Linked DNA regions of Homo sapiens: region 1 is linked to region 2. The links are contacts of gene promoters, found by promoter capture Hi-C in blood cells and fetal thymus (Javierre and others, 2016). All regions are on one chromosome and are shown on one strand. Each heading gives the region's core, a stretch centred on a gene start or on the middle of the fragment in contact. The rest is flanking DNA. Distances are from core to core; before and after follow the strand shown. Region 1 has its middle 70 kb from the start of LINC02540. Region 2 holds the start of HTR1B (5-hydroxytryptamine receptor 1B).

Region 1 (2,700 bases), core at 111-2,610, 800 kb after region 2:
TGCAGTGAGCCAAGATCGCGCCACTGCACTCCAGCCTGGAAGGCAGAGCGAGACTCCGTCTCAAAAAAAAAAAGAAAAAGAAAAAGGAAAAAAAAGGAGTAATTACTCCTTGTTGATTATTTTACAGATGGTGTAACCATCGCTGGTCTGACTTTATGCAGAGGTTCTCTTGTTAAACTTCTGACATAGCAGGACCTAGGCTTTGTCTTTTGACTCTATAGTCCTATGCAGCCATATAAATGAAGCTCATGGAACAAACCATGGATAAATGGAGTTCCCTAGAACAGTCAGGGACTTGAATCTTGCTCACCCAACTCTAGATTAATGATCTTCACTATATGCTTCCCTTTTGAGGATTTATTTGACTTCTTTCTGAATCAGCAATGCAGTTATAGATGTATTTATAGATGATTTTCATAAGTGGGTAGGGAAGATAATGTGCCAAAGCACTGCCAAGGAAATTCCTGATGGGCTTGTTTAACAAAAAATTCATAAGCATAAAGCTTGCCGCTCGCTCGAGCTCTCTGTGTGTGTGTGTGTGTGTGTGTGTGTGTGTGACATTTCCCACTTGCAATTTTTTAAATAGGAAGAAAAGAGTTTAATTTAATTGAACCTATTTGGTGAAATAAATGAAATATCACTTGCTAAATACATACATATAATAAAAAACAATATACAGAATACTTTTTAAACAAAATTTACATTTAGATTAAAATAAATTATACAAAATTGATTTTCTTCAAAAATAGCAATATTTTCTATAATATTTCTAGATAAAATAAAAAACACTTATTTTTGTAGTTTTCCAGCTTTTGCTTATAAATCAAGATGAGGCAGAAGATATAGTCATGGAAAAAGACAGAAGAAAACAGACAAGTCAGTTGTCAGTATTCACGGCCTCTGATTCTGCCTTGACCATAAATGAAAGTGTTATACATACACCTGCTAAAAAGCATATGAAGATGTAGGTTCAACAAAGAAATATAAACAGTAACAACCAAATGTGGAACAACAACGGCAGGCTTTTCCATTCAACTTTAACTGTAACTTGTTCCCTTAAGTTCATTTACTAAAGATAAAACCTGCACTAAAATCCTTGTTTCTTGATCTCACAAGCTTCTCACTCTGGTAATTCTTTAACTGTCAATTACAGATTTTTAACAACATACCTGAAATCCTTATTAGTCAAAGGTCAATTATGAGGTTTATTGTAACATATTATAAGATGTAATCCTTACTCCCACACTTCCCCAAAATATATTTCTTCAAAGAATTGATAACTCAATATCCAAGAATCAAATCCAAAATGATAATAAATGTTATACCCAAAATGACTTAACTAGAACAATTCCAGAGTGCCAGTAGCAGAGATAATGCAGACATAAAACAGGGTGTTTTCAATGCTAGCTTCTGGAAGAAAAAAATAGGTCCTCAAAGCATCAGATTTCAAGCAGGAGCCATTTAAATAGTAAGATTATCAGTAATTAATGTATTCAATGGGAGGCCTATCAGCAGAGATAGTCAGTGATTGAGTGACCTGCATACAACTTACAGCTTTTCTTCCAAATATCAAATGTAAGATAAAGCCCGTTTAGAGAAGCTTTTCAGTATTTGTAATGATTTCTGAATTATCTGTGGGGAATTCTGACTTAATTGGATAATGTTTGATATATGTGTCCACCATTAAATCCAGATCATGCTTTAGATCAAAATTTATGTTAAGCAAAGCCAAGTTACTCAATCTTTGGTCTGTCAAAGGGTTCCTCAAGTATGTTTTGAGATGCTTTTGTCCATTTTCATTTTATGTTGATAAAAATTCTCAACTTTTATCACAGGAAGGATACACAGGACCTTCAGCAATGCATACACATTAGTAAAAAACTTGATTTAGTCAAGTGGAGAGTTTCATAAATGGTGGATGGAAGCTCTACACTCTTCCCTCTGTCTTTCCATTTGATTCCCCAACAATGCAGTTTGGCTGAGAGCACACTGGGATGGGGTAAGTCACTTCTATACATGCCAGTATAGTGTTCCTCTAATGTGTAAAATTTGAGCTGACCTATGACTGAGGGTACCAGAGATAAGCACTTAAGAGCTTTGAGGTGCTGTTCTGAAAATCTGTCTTTAAGTTCCTGAATAATGTGCTCCACTGTTGAACACAGGTTTTCTTTATAAAAACTCTCATAGGGTAGTTGGAATTTCAGGTTACCTTGCTGAGCTCTGTGGAATTTCCCAGGGAATTTCATTTGAACATCAAGTTGGATTGTCATATTGTGGCTTCCTCAAACCAAAACTCATTATAAACTTCAATTTTTTCTGTCACTTTACTGAGTGACTGCAGTATTGCAGTCAAGCTACTGGCTGCAGACAAGACCTCAGAGGTTTGCCCCTAGAGATTTTTCCAAAAGTCTCTTGTAAAAAAAAAAAAAAAAAAAAAAAAATAGGACATTTTAAAGAACAACAATGGTAACAATTAAATCAAAATCTGTTACTGTACTTCAGGGTACAAATGCTTGGGCAGCTATACGATTATTGCATCTGATATTTGTGTCACTATTTGTACCATGCCAACATAAAATAAGTGCTTTCACAAGGTCCACTAAAATTTCAAAAGCATCCTGCCCTCTTGTCCATGGAGAATGGCAAATTTCCTTCAGTTCTTTACCCCTTTCTTCACTCTTCAGGAAAAGAAAAAAAATA
Region 2 (2,700 bases), core at 21-2,520:
GGGTGTGGCCATCAGGGCTGGATATGATTTTAGAGCGGAGAGGTCAGAGACCAGGGCTTCCCCGCCTAACACTGGCCTCCTAGGGTGGGAGTGGTAGGCAGGAGCCTAGGGCCAGACTGCTGGACTAAACCTGTGACCATGGCTAAGGACATGGGTCTCACTGGAGGTCAGCGCAGCAAGCTCTGATGTCCGTAGAGGCGAGAACAGGACGCCTTCTTCCCCTGACCAGAAATGCAGCTCCAGGTTGTCAGGGCTGGGAGGATGGCCCAGGGTGGGAAGCGGGGAGATAGGGCGGTAGGACCCGGCGGGAGCTTCCTTGGCCAGGAAAGGAACAGGGCGGGGGGAAAAGAGGGAGGGAGAGAGAAAAAGGGAAGGTGATGGGGAGCGGGCGTCCGCACCCGCCGCGCCGCACGAGTTGCACTGCTCTGGCGGACCGGACCTGGACTCTATATAAAGAGCCCATCTGCTCCGTAGCTCGCACGCTTCTCCCGGGCTGGTGCACGCCGCGTCCCTCCAGCTCCCCCAGACACCTGCCCCTTCCCAGTGTGCCGCGCCAGGTCCTCCAGACCCGCGCACCCAGTGGCATGGCTCCGAGTGGCTCCCGTGGGACCAGGGTGGCGGTGGCGGCGGCGCGGCCCGAGCAGCCGCAACTCCAGCCCCCGTGTCCCCCCTTTTATGGCTCCGTCTCCGCGGGGCAGCTCGTCCGAGTGGCCAGAGAGTGAAAAGAGAGGGAGGGCAGAGCTCCGGCGCGAGGCGCGGCGCAGCGCTGCTCCTAGACTTCACCCCACCCAGCTCTGGCGGCCGCTGCAGCCCCCCAAAAGTGCCCCAGCTTGGGGCGAGGGGTGGGAATGCAAGATCTCGGGACCTCTCGCTGGCCTGCAAGCTTTGGTCTCTACACCTAGGAAACTCCTGTGGGCAAAGTCTGCAGATCCAAAAGCGTCCAGGTTAGGAGACGCTCAGCCTCAAGCAACTGGGGTAAGAGATCCCATTTGGTCAAAGCCTTCTCCTCAAGCAGTACTTCACCCTCCTGCACTAGACGCCTCCAGGGAGCTGGAGCGGAGCAGGGCTCGGTGGGCCAGCTCTTAGCAACCCAGGTCTAAGACCCGGTGTGGAGAGGAACAACCACAGACGCGGCGGCTTAGCTAGGCGCTCTGGAAGTGCAGGGGAGGCGCCCGCCTGCCTTGGCTGCCGCACCCATGACCTCTAGTTTCAGCTGTGAACCTGGGCGGAGGAATAATTGAGGAACTCACGGAACTATCAACTGGGGACAAACCTGCGATCGCCACGGTCCTTCCGCCCTCTCCTTCGTCCGCTCCATGCCCAAGAGCTGCGCTCCGGAGCTGGGGCGAGGAGAGCCATGGAGGAACCGGGTGCTCAGTGCGCTCCACCGCCGCCCGCGGGCTCCGAGACCTGGGTTCCTCAAGCCAACTTATCCTCTGCTCCCTCCCAAAACTGCAGCGCCAAGGACTACATTTACCAGGACTCCATCTCCCTACCCTGGAAAGTACTGCTGGTTATGCTATTGGCGCTCATCACCTTGGCCACCACGCTCTCCAATGCCTTTGTGATTGCCACAGTGTACCGGACCCGGAAACTGCACACCCCGGCTAACTACCTGATCGCCTCTCTGGCGGTCACCGACCTGCTTGTGTCCATCCTGGTGATGCCCATCAGCACCATGTACACTGTCACCGGCCGCTGGACACTGGGCCAGGTGGTCTGTGACTTCTGGCTGTCGTCGGACATCACTTGTTGCACTGCCTCCATCCTGCACCTCTGTGTCATCGCCCTGGACCGCTACTGGGCCATCACGGACGCCGTGGAGTACTCAGCTAAAAGGACTCCCAAGAGGGCGGCGGTCATGATCGCGCTGGTGTGGGTCTTCTCCATCTCTATCTCGCTGCCGCCCTTCTTCTGGCGTCAGGCTAAGGCCGAAGAGGAGGTGTCGGAATGCGTGGTGAACACCGACCACATCCTCTACACGGTCTACTCCACGGTGGGTGCTTTCTACTTCCCCACCCTGCTCCTCATCGCCCTCTATGGCCGCATCTACGTAGAAGCCCGCTCCCGGATTTTGAAACAGACGCCCAACAGGACCGGCAAGCGCTTGACCCGAGCCCAGCTGATAACCGACTCCCCCGGGTCCACGTCCTCGGTCACCTCTATTAACTCGCGGGTTCCCGACGTGCCCAGCGAATCCGGATCTCCTGTGTATGTGAACCAAGTCAAAGTGCGAGTCTCCGACGCCCTGCTGGAAAAGAAGAAACTCATGGCCGCTAGGGAGCGCAAAGCCACCAAGACCCTAGGGATCATTTTGGGAGCCTTTATTGTGTGTTGGCTACCCTTCTTCATCATCTCCCTAGTGATGCCTATCTGCAAAGATGCCTGCTGGTTCCACCTAGCCATCTTTGACTTCTTCACATGGCTGGGCTATCTCAACTCCCTCATCAACCCCATAATCTATACCATGTCCAATGAGGACTTTAAACAAGCATTCCATAAACTGATACGTTTTAAGTGCACAAGTTGACTTGCCGTTTGCAGTGGGGTCGCCTAAGCGACCTTTGGGGACCAAGTTGTGTCTGGTTCCACAGGTAGGTCGAATCTTCTTTCGCGGTTTCTGGGTCCCAGCGAGGCTCTCTCTCCTGGGCAAGGGCAATGGATCCTGAGAAGCCAGAATAGTCCTGAGAGAGAGCTCTG

Evidence for each region. Contacts are between HindIII fragments. The CHiCAGO score rates a contact against its expected background, and 5 or more counts as called.
Region 1: a fragment that was not itself captured here is called in contact with the fragment with the promoter of HTR1B in region 2 in 1 of 17 cell types (endothelial precursors); the score reaches 5.2 in endothelial precursors.

Annotation. Positions count from the first base shown.
Region 1 is chr6:76,662,007-76,664,706 of GRCh38, reverse strand. It overlaps the pseudogene LOC100131680. Among named protein-coding and RNA genes, the nearest start is that of LINC02540, 70 kb to the right of the region's middle. The HindIII fragment of the contact is 484 bases long and covers 1,119-1,602 here.
Region 2 is chr6:77,462,061-77,464,760 of GRCh38, reverse strand. HTR1B (5-hydroxytryptamine receptor 1B) reads left to right here and starts at 1,270. Exons shown (of 1, transcript NM_000863.3): 1 at 1,270-2,700. The coding sequence starts at 1,358. The coding sequence ends at 2,530. The region is part of intron 5 of LOC105377864; the gene reads right to left. RefSeq lists a silencer at 2,260-2,404. The HindIII fragment of the contact is 3,027 bases long and covers 886-2,700 here.